3 separate regions of the Homo sapiens genome follow, and regions 2 and 3 are each linked to region 1. Evidence: promoter capture Hi-C in 16 types of primary human blood cells and fetal thymus (Javierre and others, 2016). All regions are on one chromosome and are shown on one strand. Each heading gives the region's core, a stretch centred on a gene start or on the middle of the fragment in contact. The rest is flanking DNA. Distances are from core to core; before and after follow the strand shown. Region 1 holds the start of CXCR2 (C-X-C motif chemokine receptor 2). Region 2 overlaps ARPC2 (actin related protein 2/3 complex subunit 2). Region 3 has its middle 9.2 kb from the start of ARPC2.

The links. Contacts are between HindIII fragments. The CHiCAGO score rates a contact against its expected background, and 5 or more counts as called.
Region 2: a contact is called between a fragment that was not itself captured here and the fragment with the promoter of CXCR2 in region 1, in 1 of 17 cell types (neutrophils). The highest score is 9.1, in neutrophils.
Region 3: a fragment that was not itself captured here is called in contact with the fragment with the promoter of CXCR2 in region 1 in 1 of 17 cell types (neutrophils); the score reaches 6.6 in neutrophils.

The regions. Positions count from the first base shown.
Region 1 is chr2:218,123,187-218,128,212 of GRCh38, forward strand. CXCR2 (C-X-C motif chemokine receptor 2) reads left to right here and starts at 2,842. Exons shown (of 3, transcript NM_001557.4): 1 at 2,842-3,167. The HindIII fragment of the contact is 2,247 bases long and covers 1,030-3,276 here.
Region 2 is chr2:218,226,074-218,231,099 of GRCh38, forward strand. ARPC2 (actin related protein 2/3 complex subunit 2) reads left to right here. Exons shown (of 11, transcript NM_152862.3): 4 at 2,665-2,777. Among named protein-coding and RNA genes, the nearest start is that of ARPC2, 11 kb to the left of the region's middle. The HindIII fragment of the contact is 3,033 bases long and covers 576-3,608 here.
Region 3 is chr2:218,205,434-218,210,459 of GRCh38, forward strand. No RefSeq gene overlaps it. Among named protein-coding and RNA genes, the nearest start is that of ARPC2, 9.2 kb to the right of the region's middle. The HindIII fragment of the contact is 4,060 bases long and covers 1-4,028 here.

The sequences.
Region 1 (5,026 bases), core at 1,592-4,091:
CAGGCAGATCATTTCAGGCCAGGAGTTCGAGACCAGCCTGGTCAACATGGTGAAACCCCATCTCTACTAAAAATACAAAAATTAGTTGGGCATGGTGTCACATGCCTGTAATCCCAGCTATTCAGGAGGCTGAGGCAGGAGAATCACTTGGGCCCGGGAGGCAGAAGTTGCAGTGAGCCGAGATCACACCATTGCACTCTAGCCTGAGCAACAAGAGTGAAAATCTGTCCCAAAATATTATTAATAATAATAATAACAATAATAATAATAATAATAATCAACCTTCTGAATTCTTTGTCTGGTATTACAAAAATTTCATCTTGGTTTGGATTTATTGCTGGAAAGTTAGTGTGATCTTTTGGGGGTGTTACAGAACCCTGTTTTGTCATATTGCCAGAATTACTTTTCTGGTTCCTTCTCATTTGGGTAGACTATTTCTTCAAGTTATTCTTGAATTTATTTTTGATTTGACTTTTTTTTTTTTTTTGAGATGGAGTTTCGCTCTTGTTACCCAGGCTGGAGTGCAATGTCTGATCTCGGCTCACTGTGACCTCCACCTCCCCGATTCGAGTGATTCTCCTGTCTCAGCCTCCCGAGTAGCTGGGATTACAGGCATGTACCAGCACACCCGGCTAATTTTGTATTTTTAGTAGAGACAGGATTTCTCCATGTTGGTCAATCTGGTCTTGAACTCCTGACCTTAGGTGATCTGCCAGCCTCAGCTTCCCAAAATGCTGGGATTACAGGCGTGAGCCACCACGCCCAGCAACTATGTTTTTTTTTTATTTCTTTTTCTTCCCTCTTAAGGATCTGACTTTAATATTTATAGTTTATTTTAGCCTAATTTGATCCTTGGTTTTTAGGAGTGAAGACTTTTGGATTTTAGGAGTGAAGACTCTGTATGAGTTCGTTAGTTAGAGACAGTCCTTGTGTGCTGGCTTTCCCAGATCCTGGTTGTAGCAGTTACGTACTTGGTGTGTGGGAAGGTTTACTGTCTCCTACAGGGTTGGAATGGCAGGAATCTCTTTAAGCTTACCTCATTCTCTCGTGGGGTACTCTTTATTTATTTATTTAATTTTTCCCCAGTATTTTACTTACTGAGTTGATTCAGGCTTTGGACCAGTAGGGGAAGTATCCCTGGGTAGGCACCAGATGTAGCTAAAGTAGGTGGGTAGGCACCGGTTGTAGCTAAAGCAGGTGGGCAGAGATCCCAGCCTTGATGAGAGTGCCTGGGAGAGCTCTCAATTAGATGTGCTGAGGTTTTGTCAGGGTGAAGGGTAGGAGCTACCTCAGGTCCCCCACTAGGCCAGCTGGAAAGCTATCCACCTCCCAGCTTCACTCCTTTCCCAGTGTTCCAGCTATTCAGATCAGACAGGCAGTTATTTTCATCTGTAGAAATGTTGATGTTCCAAGTAGAGAGGAATTGTGACTGCCTGTCATGCAAACCTGAATCTGGGGAGTGCTCCTCCCGTGGGGATGCAATCACCCTGATTTGTTCCAGGAAGGCTGTCTATAGGTGCATCAATGCTGCGTTCCTTTGGGAGAAGCCCCAGCTCTGTCTGCAGTGGCGTACCAGGGGGAACAAGGATCCCTTCTCTAAGACCCTTCACAATACCAGAGGCTGCCTGCCTATTGGGTAGAGGTGCAAACTTTCCCCCACTCTGCCCAGCACAGCAATTGTCTCTGCAATAGGAAACTTCCCACCAGTGAAAAGATCTGGGACTCAAGCCCTGCCATTCAGATTCTTTTGTTCCACAGGGTATTCCCTTGATGTGATGTTCTTCCCCTTCCTCTAGGAATGGGACTTCCTGGAAGCCAGACTACAGTGCTCTTCTGGGTCTAGCCACCCAGTGGGCCTACCAGACTCTGGGCTGGTGCTAGGGAATGTCTGCAAGGGATCCAGTGGTGTTACCTGTCTTCAAGACTCCCAGCAGTGAATACCAGCACCATCTCTGACAGAAGTGGGAGGGGAGTGATGCAAACTCTGCAAGATTCCTTGGTTGTAGATAGACTTAGAGTATTGACTTTCTCAAATGCTGGTTATAATTATAGTGAACTTATCACGTGGACAGACGCAGGACTTCTGGTTAGCCAGGGTGTTGTAAGCAGTGGTGATAGCTGAGAATATGCAGCCGTTTTCTCCTTCCTGGGTACAGTGCTATTCTGCCTAGAGGTGAGTTTTTGCCTGTCTCACAGAGTAGGCTGCAGCCTGCCACTTCTTTCAAAAGTTCTGTGGATTCTTTCAGCTTTCCTGTTCAGTTCCTGCATTCGTTCCTGGAGAAAAAAAAATTATAGTGTGAATCTCTACACGCTATTCTGTCCTTCCAGATGGGAGAGGCATGCTAATGCTGCCTCCAATCTGTTGTCTTGGGGGGAAAGAAAGCAATTTGTTTTTGTTTTTTTTTTTAATGGATTTGCTGGGTTTAGTAACCCAGAGGTCATTGGGAACCTTGGCGAAAGTTATTTCAGTGGAGCAGTAGGAAGGAAGCCAGTTGCAGTGTCTTTGTTGAGCAGCAGAGGGGAGGTGAGGAAGTGGAGAGAGCAGCTGTGGTGGCTGAAGGGTGCTAGGACAGAGGGAGCATGATAAAGCCATAAGTAAGATGTGGTAGAAGGGAAAGAGCCAGGACAGAGGGGAGAGAAAGCAGGATCCTCAAGGACCAGAGAGGCAGTGGGTCCCACAGTCAGGTGCGGGGATTCAACAGAAACAGAAGGAGGGACGCTTCTCACTCTGACCCCGGAAAGAAGGAAGAAACTGCGTGCGAGTTCAGACAAGTCCGTTGGCGGGGGCTGGGATGCCTGCATCTTCCTTGTTAAAAAAGGAAGTGCAGGTTCAAAACATTCAGAGACAGAAGGTGGATAGACAAATCTCCACCTTCAGACTGGTAGGCTCCTCCAGAAGCCATCAGACAGGAAGATGTGAAAATCCCCAGCACTCATCCCAGAATCACTAAGTGGCACCTGTCCTGGGCCAAAGTCCCAGGACAGACCTCATTGTTCCTCTGTGGGAATACCTCCCCAGGAGGGCATCCTGGATTTCCCCCTTGCAACCCAGGTCAGAAGTTTCATCGTCAAGGTTGTTTCATCTTTTTTTTCCTGTCTAACAGCTCTGACTACCACCCAACCTTGAGGCACAGTGAAGACATCGGTGGCCACTCCAATAACAGCAGGTAGGTGACTTGTTCAGTCTGAGATGCTGGCAACATATTTCTAATGGAAGAGATCTGGAAACTTCAGCCTCCTCTGAGGCCCCTGAGAACTGGGGTGATGAAGTGTAGAAGCTTAGAGCTAAAGACAACTAAGTCTTCACCTAGACAGTGTTGCACAAAAGAATTTTCTGCAATAATAGAAATGTCCTAGACCTGCCCTGCCCAGTATGGTAGCCACTAGTCACACGTGGCCACGGAGCACTTGAAATGTGACTAGTGTGACTGCGGATCTCAATTTTTATTTCATTTTATTTTATTTTATTTTTTCTTTTTTGAGACAGGCTCTCACTCCAATGCCCAGGCTGGAGTGCTGTGGCATGATCTTGGCTCATTGCAACCTCAACCTACAGGTCTAGGTGATTCTCCCACCTCAGCCTCCCAAGTAGCTGCAGCTACAGGCATGTGCCGCTACACTCAGCTAATTTTTTGGGTTTTGTTTGTTTGTTTGTTTTGTTTTTGTTTTTGTAAAGACAGGGTTTCGTCATGTTGCCCAGGCTGATCTCAAACTCCTGGGCTCAAGCGATCCGCCCACCTCGGCCTCCCAAAGTGCTGGGATTACAGGCATGGGCCACCTTGCCTGGCCTTTATTTTAATTAATTTTAATTTAAATAGCTACACATGGCTAGTAGCTAGCATGCTGAACAGAATAGAATTAGAAGAAGCTCCCGTTTTCCAAAGGCACACAACAAGGCCCAGAAAGAATGACTTCTCCAAGCAGGATTAGAAGCCAGGTTTTTGTTTTGTTTTTGTTTGAGACAGGGTTTTGCTCTGTCGCCCAGGCTGGAATGCAATGGCACAATCTCGGCTCACTGCAACTTCTGCCTCCCGAGTTCAAGCAATTCTTATGCCTCAGCCTCTGGAGTAGCTGGGATTACAGGCGTGCGCTGCCACGCCTGGCTAATTTTTGCATTTTTAATAGAGGCGGGGTTTCACCATGTTGGCCAGGCTGTTCTGTAACTCCTGGCCTCGAGTGATCCACTCACCTCAGCCTCCCAAAGTGCTGGGATTACAGGCATGAGCCACCGCACCAGAAGCCAGTTTTTTAATTCACTCCACCCTGCATATAACCGCAGTGATCTCCATGGAAATGAAATTGACCTAAGGAGCATGAAGAAGGAGGCTGACTGGGAAATGTCAAATCTGGGCTCCCCTCTCTACATCCTTTGTATCTGACTTTCTGGGACACAGGGAGGTACCTAATGGAGCTCAGAAACTTTAGGCTGGGATCCTGCTCCTTATTACAGTGAACAGGAGATAGGATTTGAGAGCAGATTTTTAGAAGTTTTTTAAACTGAAAACCTAGTTCAGCTGTGTCACTCTAGGTATGTTGCTTAACCTCTCAGAGTCTTCATTTCCTCTTCCAGAAAGTGCCTGCTTCGTGAGGTTATCCTGAGGATTAATTGATACAAATTCTGGAAAGCACTTTGCCCAGAAGCTAGAACCTGGTAGACACTCAACATTACAGCTAATATGACAATTAATATCCAGGTCAAAGTAAATTAGATGTCATCAAAGTCAGCCTTGAAAGCAGACCCACTGCCGACTGCTTTCCCTTGACTGGGGATGTAGTGAGAGAGGCAGCATGTTATCAGTGAATAAACTATTCCAGTAATAATGATCACAACAATAAAGGTTAACATTGTACTTTATGTATGTTTTACGTGATTTACAAGCAATCCCTCATTTCATCCTCACCACAACCCCATGAGTTGGATTCTGTATTGGCCCCATTTTACAGATGAGTAAACTGAGACTCAGAAAGGAAAAGTCACTTGCCCAGAATTGCTCAGCTAGCCCTGGTGTCATCTGCCTCTCTCCAT
Region 2 (5,026 bases), core at 842-3,341, 100 kb after region 1:
CACCTGATGTCAAGAGTTAAAGAACAGCCTGGCAAACATGGTGAAACCCCCTCTACTAAAAATACAAAAATTAGCCGGGCATGGTGGTGGGCACCTGTAATCCCAGCTACTCGGAAGGCTGAGGCAGGAGAATCACTTGAACTGGGAGGCAGGAGTTGCTGTGAGCTGAGATCACACCACTGCACTCCAGCCTGGGCGATACAGTGAGACTGTCTCAAAAAAAAAAAGAGAGAGACAAGAAAAGAAAATTGTACCTAAAATAAGCTTTGACATGGATTGGGTGCGGTAGCTCATGCATGTAATCCCAGCACTTTGGGAGGCCACGGCAGGCGGATCACGACGTCAGGAGATCGAGACTATCCTGGCTAACATGATGAAACCCTGTCTGTACTAAAAATACAAAAAATTAGCTGGGCATGGTGGCGGGCACCTGTAGTCCCAGCTACTCCGGAGGCCGAGGCAGGAGAATGGCATGAACCCAGGAGGCGGAGCTTGCAGTGAGCAGACATCGCGCCACTGCACTCCAGCCTGGGCGACAGTGAGACTCCATCTCAAAAAAAAAAAAAAAAAAAAAAAGCTTTGACATTTTGGATACTGTCCCTCATCAGGTCTTTTTGAGCTCTTTATAATAGATGACCATTTCATGTATTTAATCCACTGATGACTGACAATATAAAGTTACCTGCTGATAAATTAGAAGTTTGGATTTAATTTTGTGGTAAAACTGAGGTTTTTTTGTTGTGTTTTTTTTTTAATTTGGAAATATTACATTATCTTCAAGTAGCTGTCAGTCTTAGTTTGCCTAGCACTAGAGTAGTAGGGAAACATGAACAGCTAGAGATGTGTTCATCAAGTCAGAGAGAGATGTTGCTGCTTTCTGTTCCCTATAAAGAATTAGGTGTTGGTACTATTTACTTGTTAGGTGAATGAACTCAGAGGAATACAACCACCCTTTCTACAACAAGAGTCCTCGACAAGATGATCTTGGAAGACTTTTGCAGCTCTGAAGTGCTGTTACCTGGAGGCCAGGCACCATCCCTTTACCCTCCTACTAACTGGCATTGCCAGATATCCCTTCGTGATTCCCATGACAGCTCCATAAAGTGATGGCACTCAGCACCTAATTCTAGTTTCAGGAACCTATTCCTAGTTTCAGGAATTACACAGGCTGAGTCAGTCCTGTGTACTGCAGAAAGATAGAACCGAAAAAGAGGGGAGTCCTATAGATTAGAAGCAACTCAAAAGATAACCAAATGCAATGTGTGGATATTGTTTGCATCTTAATTCAAATAAGACAACAATGCTTAAAATTTTTTGAGACAGTAGAGAATATTTAAATACTTGACTGAATATTTGTTTTGTTTTTTTGAGACTGAGTCTCACTCTGTCACCCAGGCTGGAGTGCAGTGGCGTTGATAATCTGCTCACTGCCGCCTCCACCTCCCCGAGTTCAAGCGATTCTCCTGCCTCCGCCTCTCAAGTAGCTGGGACTACAGATCTCCACCACCACACCCGGCTAATTTTTTTTTTTTTTCCAGACAGCGTCTTGCTCTGTCGCCCAGGCTGGAGTGCAATGGCATGATCTTGGCTCACTGCAACCTCCACCCCCCGGGTTCAAGCGATTCTCCTGTCTCAGCCTCCCAAGTAGCTGGGATTACAGGCATGTGCCACCACACCCAGCTAATTTTTTGTAATTTTTGTAGAGACAGGGTTTCACCATGTTGGCCAGGCTGGTTTTGAACTCCTGACCTCAAGTGATCCACCCACCTCGGCCTCCCAAAGTTAACAGGCTGGGTTAACAGGCTTGAGCCACTGTGCCCGGCCTTGACTGAATATTTGATATTAAGAAATTGTTTTTAAAAATTTAGGCATGACACTAGTATCATGGTTATGTTTTTTAACAAATAGTCTTCTGTATCTTCCAAAGATATATTCTGAGTATTTATGGATGAAATTATGTGTTGTATCTGGGATTTGCTTCAAAATAAATCAATGGGAAGGAGGATGTCTAAATGAAACAAGAATTGTCCATGTGTTAATAATTGTTGAGGCTGGGCAAGGTGGTTCACGCCTGTAATCCCAGCACTTTGGGAGGCTGAGGTGGGCAGATCATGAGGTCAGGAGTTCGAGACCAGCCTGGCCAACACAGTGAAACCCCGTCTGTACTAAAAATACAAAAATTAGCTGGGTGTGGTGGCACATGCCTGTAGTCCCAGCTACTCGGGAGGCTGAGACAGGAGAATCTCTTGAACCTGGGAGGCAGAGGTTGCAGTGAGCCGAGACCACACCATTGCACTCCAGCCTGGGTGACAGAGTAAGACTCTATCTCAAAAAAAAAAAAATCGTTGAAGCCTCATGATGGAGATGAGAGTTCATTATACTGTTCGTTCTGCTTATATACATGTAAAATCCAATTATTTCAGCACCAAGCTGTGATTAAGGAAAGAATAGCTTTGTAATTTTAAGAAAGAGCAAAGAAACAAGTGCTCAGCAATTCTATCCCAGTGTTTCTGCTGATTTGTCACATGGATTTAAAATAAGTTCCATTTTACTTACATGCCTCCTTAAAAGTGGTCTTCCTTGTGGCCTACGGCAAGGTAGGCGCTTGGAGAGATTATTTCCCATTCCCAAATTGTTACGCAATCTTATTTGCTTTCCTCACAGATTTCGATGGGGTCCTCTATCATATTTCAAATCCTAATGGAGACAAAACAAAAGTGATGGTCAGTATTTCTTTGAAATTCTACAAGGAACTTCAGGCACATGGTGCTGATGAGGTAAGATCCACATCATTTTCCTTGGGACTCTTGTTTCCTCACCTTTCATTGGCAGTTTGCCATTCATGGAAGATCCATGGCACTAAATCACCCCCACATGACTACTTGCTCACCTAACTAGGGGCTCTTGACTTGATTCCTATAATGAATTGTGTTTCCTAGAAAAGGTTTTGACTCTTGCTTGCTTGCTTTAAAACAATGGAAACAAAAATAGCTTTAGTTCTCCAAAAACATAGCAAAGAATACTTTTCCTTGATCAGTACAAAAATAGCTGTTGCAAGAATTAGGTTCTGTTCTATTTTTGTAATATTATCAAGGCAGATAGATAACTTCTAGCTTGTTTAAATTTTATAGTCTCAGGTTCTCATTCTGGAGGCTTAGGCACAAATAGCTGTCTTTTGAAATTTTTAATTAAAGCTCTTTAAAGCTACCGTCTTTAAATATCTCTTCTTTATAACTACCATAGGGGAAATAAGAAAGATGTCCAGACATTATGAAACTTCGGTGGCCATGCCTTGTTCACTGGCTTCTTTAAATAGTTAAGTAGCAGGTTTGGTTCCTGTTGAACTGTATTTGCTCTGAGGAGAGCCATTTATGGAAGAAAGAAAATGCTATTACACCAGTTTGTGCACGCTGTGGTTGGGTCTCAAAGCAGGAAATATGACTCAGTTCCTGAATCAGTTTTCAAATTTCTTAGTTTTAACAAACTAGGTTCTCCTTAATCTGTTAAATGAAGATATAACCATAGCTGTTTCTTTCTGAAAAGTAGTAGCTTTTGAATTATTTAAAACTTATATAATAAAAGATGATTTGTAAAGGAATATGGTCAAAAGCTTGTTTAATTTTTTAGCATAAAAACTAAAATTAGTCTTAATACCAAGAGCCATTGGTTGCTTCCCTTAGTTATTCAAATGCAATTGATTTTCTCATAAGTTCAAAGAAAGAAGAAATATTTAGAGGATTTGGAATCCAGATTAGTTTACTGGAAAAAGAAAAGCTTCAGAAAGAAGACCTAGTGCTTTTATAAAGCTTATGAAGAATTGTTTTGTAAAAGATAGTGGCTGACACTTCTTTACCAGATAAAGAGTGAAAGAAAACAAATGGCTATTAAAGCAGCCCTGCCTCTTTTTTTTTTTTGAGGTGGAGTCTCACTCTGTTGCCCCAGGCTGTACTGCAGTGGCGCCAGCTCAGCTCACTGCAACCTCCAACTCCTGGGTTCAAGCAGTTCATCTGCCTCAGCCTCCTGAGTAGCTGGGATTACAGGCATGCACCGCTACACCTGGCTAATTTTTTGTACTTTTCATAGAGATGGCGTTTCACCACATTGGCCAGGCTGCTCTCAAACTTCTGACCTCAGGTGATCTGCCTGCCTCGACCTCCCACAGTGCTAAGATTGCAGGTGTGAGCCACCGTGCCCAGCCTTTTCTTTTTTTTTTCTTTTTTTTTTTTTTTTTTTTTTTTGACAAGGTCTTGTTCTGTCACCTAGGCTGGAGTGCAGTGGCACAATCACAGCCACTGCACCCCTCAACCTCCCAGGCTCAAGCAGTCCTCTCACCTCAGCCTCCTGAGTGTCTGGGACTACAGGCACGTGCCACCACACCTGGCTTATTTTTTGTTTGTTTGTTCTTTAGAGAGAGGAGGTTTCACTATGTTGCCCAGGCTAGTTTCAAACTCCTGGGCTCAAGCAGTCCTCCTTCCTGGGCCTCCCAAAGTGCTGGGATTATAGATGTGAGCCACCATGTCCAGCTGCATCGCTGCTTTGGATCAGCTATAACTACCTGAAAAGAAGTGTTAAAATATTTGAATAGACTTTTTTTAAATTGTGTAATCATTCTCCCCTAGACAGTCTTCACTAGGTGCAAGCCTGCACAGTGGCACACACCTGTAGTGCCAACTGTGTGTTGGGACTTCACACAGTTGGCTTGAGGGGTTCAAGTGGGGAGAGTTGCTGGAGCCCAGGAGTTCAAGTCCAGCCTGGACGACATAGTGAGATTCCACCTCAAAAAAAGGAAAAGATCTAAATGCAATAATAATAATCCTGGAAAGAAAGAGTTAAGCTAGATTTCTTAAATCTCCTTTCCATTCTGTGCTTTTCTTACGATGGAGCTCCAGAACACATTGCTATTCTTGTAGCTACCACAAGGGTCAAAGAACCAGCCCCACCCACTCAAGTGGGTGGAGTAAGTAACATTCATAGTGTTGGAGCAGAGTGCACAGTAAATGGCTCCCTGGGTTGGTTAAACAGTGAC
Region 3 (5,026 bases), core at 749-3,248, 81 kb after region 1:
GTTGTGGGATTTTTTTCATAAATGCCCTTTATCATGTAAAGGAAGTTCCCTTTTATCTTAACCCATTCTGCTGCTATCACAAAATACCTTAGAGTGAGTAATTTACAAATAATAGAAATGTATTTCTGCCAGGCACAATGGCTCATGCCTGTAATACCAACAATTTGGGAGGCCAAAGTGGGAAGATTATTTGAGGCCAGGAGTTCAAGACCACCTCAGGTAACATAGCGAGGACTTATCTCTATTAGACATTTAAAAATTAGCTAGGCATGATGGCAGGCACCTACAGTCCCAGCTACTTGGGAAGCTGAAGTGGGAGGACTGCTCGAGCCAAGGAGTTTGAGGCAGCAGTGAGCCAGGATCTTGTCACTGCACTCCAGCCTGGGCAACAGAGCGAGACCCTGTCTCCTCACCACCAAAAAGAAGAAAGAAATTTGCTTCTCACAGTTCTGGAGGCTGGGAAGTCCAACACCAAAATGCCAGAAGATTTGGTGTTTGGTGAGGGCCTGTTCCATATATAGCATTTTCTTGAGGCATCCTCACAATAAGCAGGAAAAGGTAGAAGGGCAAAAGGAGACCAACACGGTGTCCTCACGTAGCAGAAGAGATTAAAGGGGAAAGGGGAGCCAGTTAGTTCTCTCAAGCCCTTTTATGAGGGCACTAATAACCTCCTTCAGGACCCACATCTTAATTCTATTGCATTGGGGTTGAGTTTCAACATATGAATTTTGGAGGGACACATACATTCAAATCATAGCACCTACTATTTCCAGTGTTCTGAGTTTTTATCATCAAAAGGTGCTGAATTTTATCAAATGCTTTTTCTGCATCTATTGAGATGACCATGTTTTTTCTTGTCATTTTATTATTGTGGCATATCACATTGATTGATTTCCTTGTGTTGAACCACTCTTGGTTTCTGGGATAAATTCCACTTAGACATGGTATGTGATTCTGTTTGTTTGTTTGTTTGTTTGTTTGTTTGTTTGAGACAGGGTCTCATTCTGGTTGTCCAGGCTGGAGCACAGTGGTGCAATCTCAGCTCACTGCAACCTCTGCCTCCAGGGTTCAAGTGATTCTCATGTGTCAGCCTCCATAGCTGGAATTACAGGCACATGCCATCACACCAGCTAATTTTTGTTTTTTTGTAGAGATAGCATTCCCCATGTTGGCCAGGCTGGTCTCAAACTCCTGACCTCTAGCGATCCTCCTGCCTCAACCTCCCAAAGTCATGGGATTACAGGCGCGAGCCACCACACCCAGCCAATTATTATAAAGTGCTATTGGATTTAGTTTGCTAGCATTTGGTTGGGGATTCCTGTGTCTATTCATAGAGATATTGGCCTGAATTTCGCTTCTCTCATGGCATCTTTGTCTGGATATCAGAGTAATACTGGCCTCATAGAATGTGTTAGAAAATGTTCGTTCCTCTTCCATTTTTTGGAAATGTTTGAGTAGAGTTGGTGTTAATTCTTCTTTAAATTGGCTAAAAATGTGTTGTTCAATTTCCCTGTCTTTGTGAATTTTCCAGTTTTTTTCTTCTGCTATTTATTTGTATCTTCATTCCACTGTGGTTGAAGAGGATACTTTGTATGATTTTGATTTTTTTAATGTATTGAGAATCATTTTCTGGCCTAGCATATGTTCTATCCTAGAAACTGCTCCATGTACACTTGAGAAGTATATTCTGCTGTTGTTATGTGGAGTGATCTGTGTTATCTGCAGTCTAGTTAGTTTATGATGTTCTTCAAGTCCTCTATTTCCTTGCCAATCTTCTGTCTAGGTGTTCACTCTATTATTGAAAGTAGGACATTGAAGTCTCCAACTATTATCGTAGAACTATTTTTCCCTTTAATTCTGTCCATATTTGCTTTATATATTTTGGACTCTGTTGTTTGATGTGTATATGTTTATAATTATTATATTTTCCTGATGAATTGATCCTATTATCAATATAAACACTTTTTGTCTCTTATAACAATTCTTGACTTAAAATATATTCTTTCTGATACTAGCATAGCCATTCCAGCTCTATTTTGGTTACAGTTTGCCTAGAATATCTTTTTTTTTTTTTTCAGAGACACAGTCTCACCCTGCCACCCAGACTGGAATGTAGTGGCACAAACATAGCTCACTGCAGCCATGGCTGCATAGTATTCCCGGACTAAAGCAATCCTTCCACCTCAACCTCTCCAGTAGCTGGAACCAGGTGTGCACCACCATTCTTGGCTAATTTTTTTTATTTTTAGTAGAGACAGGGTCTTGCCATGTTACCTAGGCTGATCTCAAACTCCTGGCTCAGGTGATCTTCCTGCCTTGGTCTTCCAAAGTGCTGGGACTGGCCAGGCATGGTGGCTCATGCCTGTAATACCAGCACTTTGGGAGGCTGAGGTGGGTGGATCACTTGAGGTTAGGAGCTCGAGACTAGCCTGGCCAACATGGTGAAACCCCATCTCTACTTAAAATACAAAAAAATTAGCTGGGGTGTGGTGGTACCCACCTGCAGTCCCAGCTACTCGGGAGGCTGGGGCAGGAGAATGACTCGAACCCCAGAGACAGAGGTTGCAGTGAGCCACTTCACTCCAGCCTGGGCAACAGAGCGAGACTCTGTCTCAAAAAAAACAAAAGACAAAGTGCTGAGATTACAGGTATGAGCCACTGTGCCCAGTCCCAGAATATATTTTTCTATTCTTTGATTTTCAACCTATTTGCATCTTTGGATCTTAAGTTAGTCTCTAGTAAAAGCATATAGTTGGATCATTTTTTAAAACTTCATTTTGCTGGCCAGGTGCAGTGGCTCACGCCTGTAATCCCAGCACTTTAGGAGGCCGAGGCGGGCAGATCACTTGAGGTTGTGGTGACTCACGCCTATAATCCCAGCACTTTAGGAGGCCAAGACGGGCAGATCACTTGAGGTCAGGAGTTTGAGACCAGCCTGGCCAACATGGTGAAACCCCATTTCTACTAAAAAAAAAAAAAAAAAAATAGCTGGACATGGTAGCATGTGCCTGTAGTCCGAGCTACACATGAGGCTGAGACAGGAGACTCGCTTGAACCCGGGAGGCGGAGGTTGCAGTGAGCCAAGATCGTACCACTGCACTTCAGCCTGGGCGACAGAGCAAGATTCTGTCTCAAAAAAAAAAAAAAATTTATTTTGCCAATCTCTGTCTTTTAATTGTTTAATCCATTTACATTTTAAATGATTATCGATAATAAAGAACTTACCTCTACTATCATGCTATTTATTTTCTTTTTCTTTTTTTTTTTTTACTTTTAATTTAGGTTCAGGGTACATGTGCGGGTAATAAGCATAATACTCAATAGGTAGTTTTTTTGATCCTCACCCTCCTCCCACCCTTCACCCTCAAGTAGGCCCCGGTGTCTCTTGTTCCCTTCTTTGTGTCCATATATACTCAATGTTTACCTCCCACTTACAAGTAAGAATATGTGGTATTTGGCTGTCTTTTTTTTTTTTTTTTTGAGATGGATTTTCCCTCTCTCACCCAGGCTGGAGTTCAGTGTCCCAATCTTGGCCCACTGCAACCTCCACCTCTCAGGTTCAAGTAATTCTCCTGTCTCAGCCTCAAGAGTAGCTGCGATTACAGGCACAAGACACCAGAGCTGGCTAATTTTTGTATTTTTCGTAGAGACGGGGTTTCATCATGTTGAACAGGCTAGTCTCGAACTCCTGACCTCAGGTGATCCACCCGCCTCAGCCTCCCAAAGTGCTGGAATTAGAGGTGTGAGCCACTATGCCTGGCTCCTTCAAGTTTTGAAAGAACATTTTACAGGCTATAATATTCCTGGTTGACAGGTTTTTTTATTTCACCACTTTAAAGATATCATCATTCCACTGCCTTCATGGTTTCTGATGAAAAATTAGCTGTTGTTCTTATGCAGGAGACTTGTAAATGAGTCACTTCTCTCTTTCACTTTAAAGATTTTCTCTTTATTTCTGGCTTTCAACAGTTTTGACTATAATATGTCTCAGTGTGAATCTCTGAGTTTATCCTGCTTTAAGTTTATCAAGCTTATTAGATGTATTGATTCACATCTTTCACCACATCTGGGAACTTTATGGCCATTACTTGTTTAAATATTTTTCCTTCCCCTTTCTCTCTCTCTCCTCTTTCTGTAACTCCCATAACGTGTGTTTTGATATGCTTAATTTGTGTCCCACATGTCCAATAAGCTCTGTTCAATTGTTTTATTTTTGTTCCTCAAACTGGGTAATTTTAACTGCCCTATCTTCAAGTTCACTGATTCTTTCTTCTGCCTGCTCAAATGTGCTGTTGACCCCCTCTAGTAATTTCTGCACTTCAGCTATTGTACTTCTCAGCTCCAAAATTTTTATTTGGTTCCTTTTTATTATTTCTATCTCTTTATGATATTCTATGCTTGTATATACACCATGCTCCCGATTTTCCTTAGCTATTCTTCATGGTTTCCATGAGCTCTTTTCTTTTTTCCTTCAGCATATTTAAGACAGTTAAGTCTTTTTATATAAATCCAACATCTGGGCTCTTCACGGATAGTTTCTATCAATTTTTTTCTATATTCCTTTTACTATGAATGAACCATACTTTCATTTTATGTTGCATGCTTTATAATTTTCTGATGAGAACTGGAAATTTTGAATATTAAAATTGTAACTCTTGAAATTAGATTTTCTCTTCTGCCCCAGTTTCAGGGATTACTGTTGCCTGAAGAAAGCTACAGTCATCTGTTTATTTAGTGCCTTTTCCTAACTCTGTTGCAAAGACTATATTCCTTGGCATGTGTAGTCACTAAAGACTCATAATTTCTGCAGTCAGCCAGTGACCTAACAGAGATTTCCTTAAATGCCTGGGTCCAAAAAAGAAAAGAAAAGGCTGTTTTGTCTCTTTAAATCCCTTCCATCACTCAGGAGGCTGAGGCAGGAGGATTGCTTGAGCCCAGGAGTTTGAGTCTAGCCTGAGCAACATAGCAAGACTTCATCTTTTTTTTTTTCTTTTTGAGATAAGAGTCTCGCTCTGTCACCCAGGCT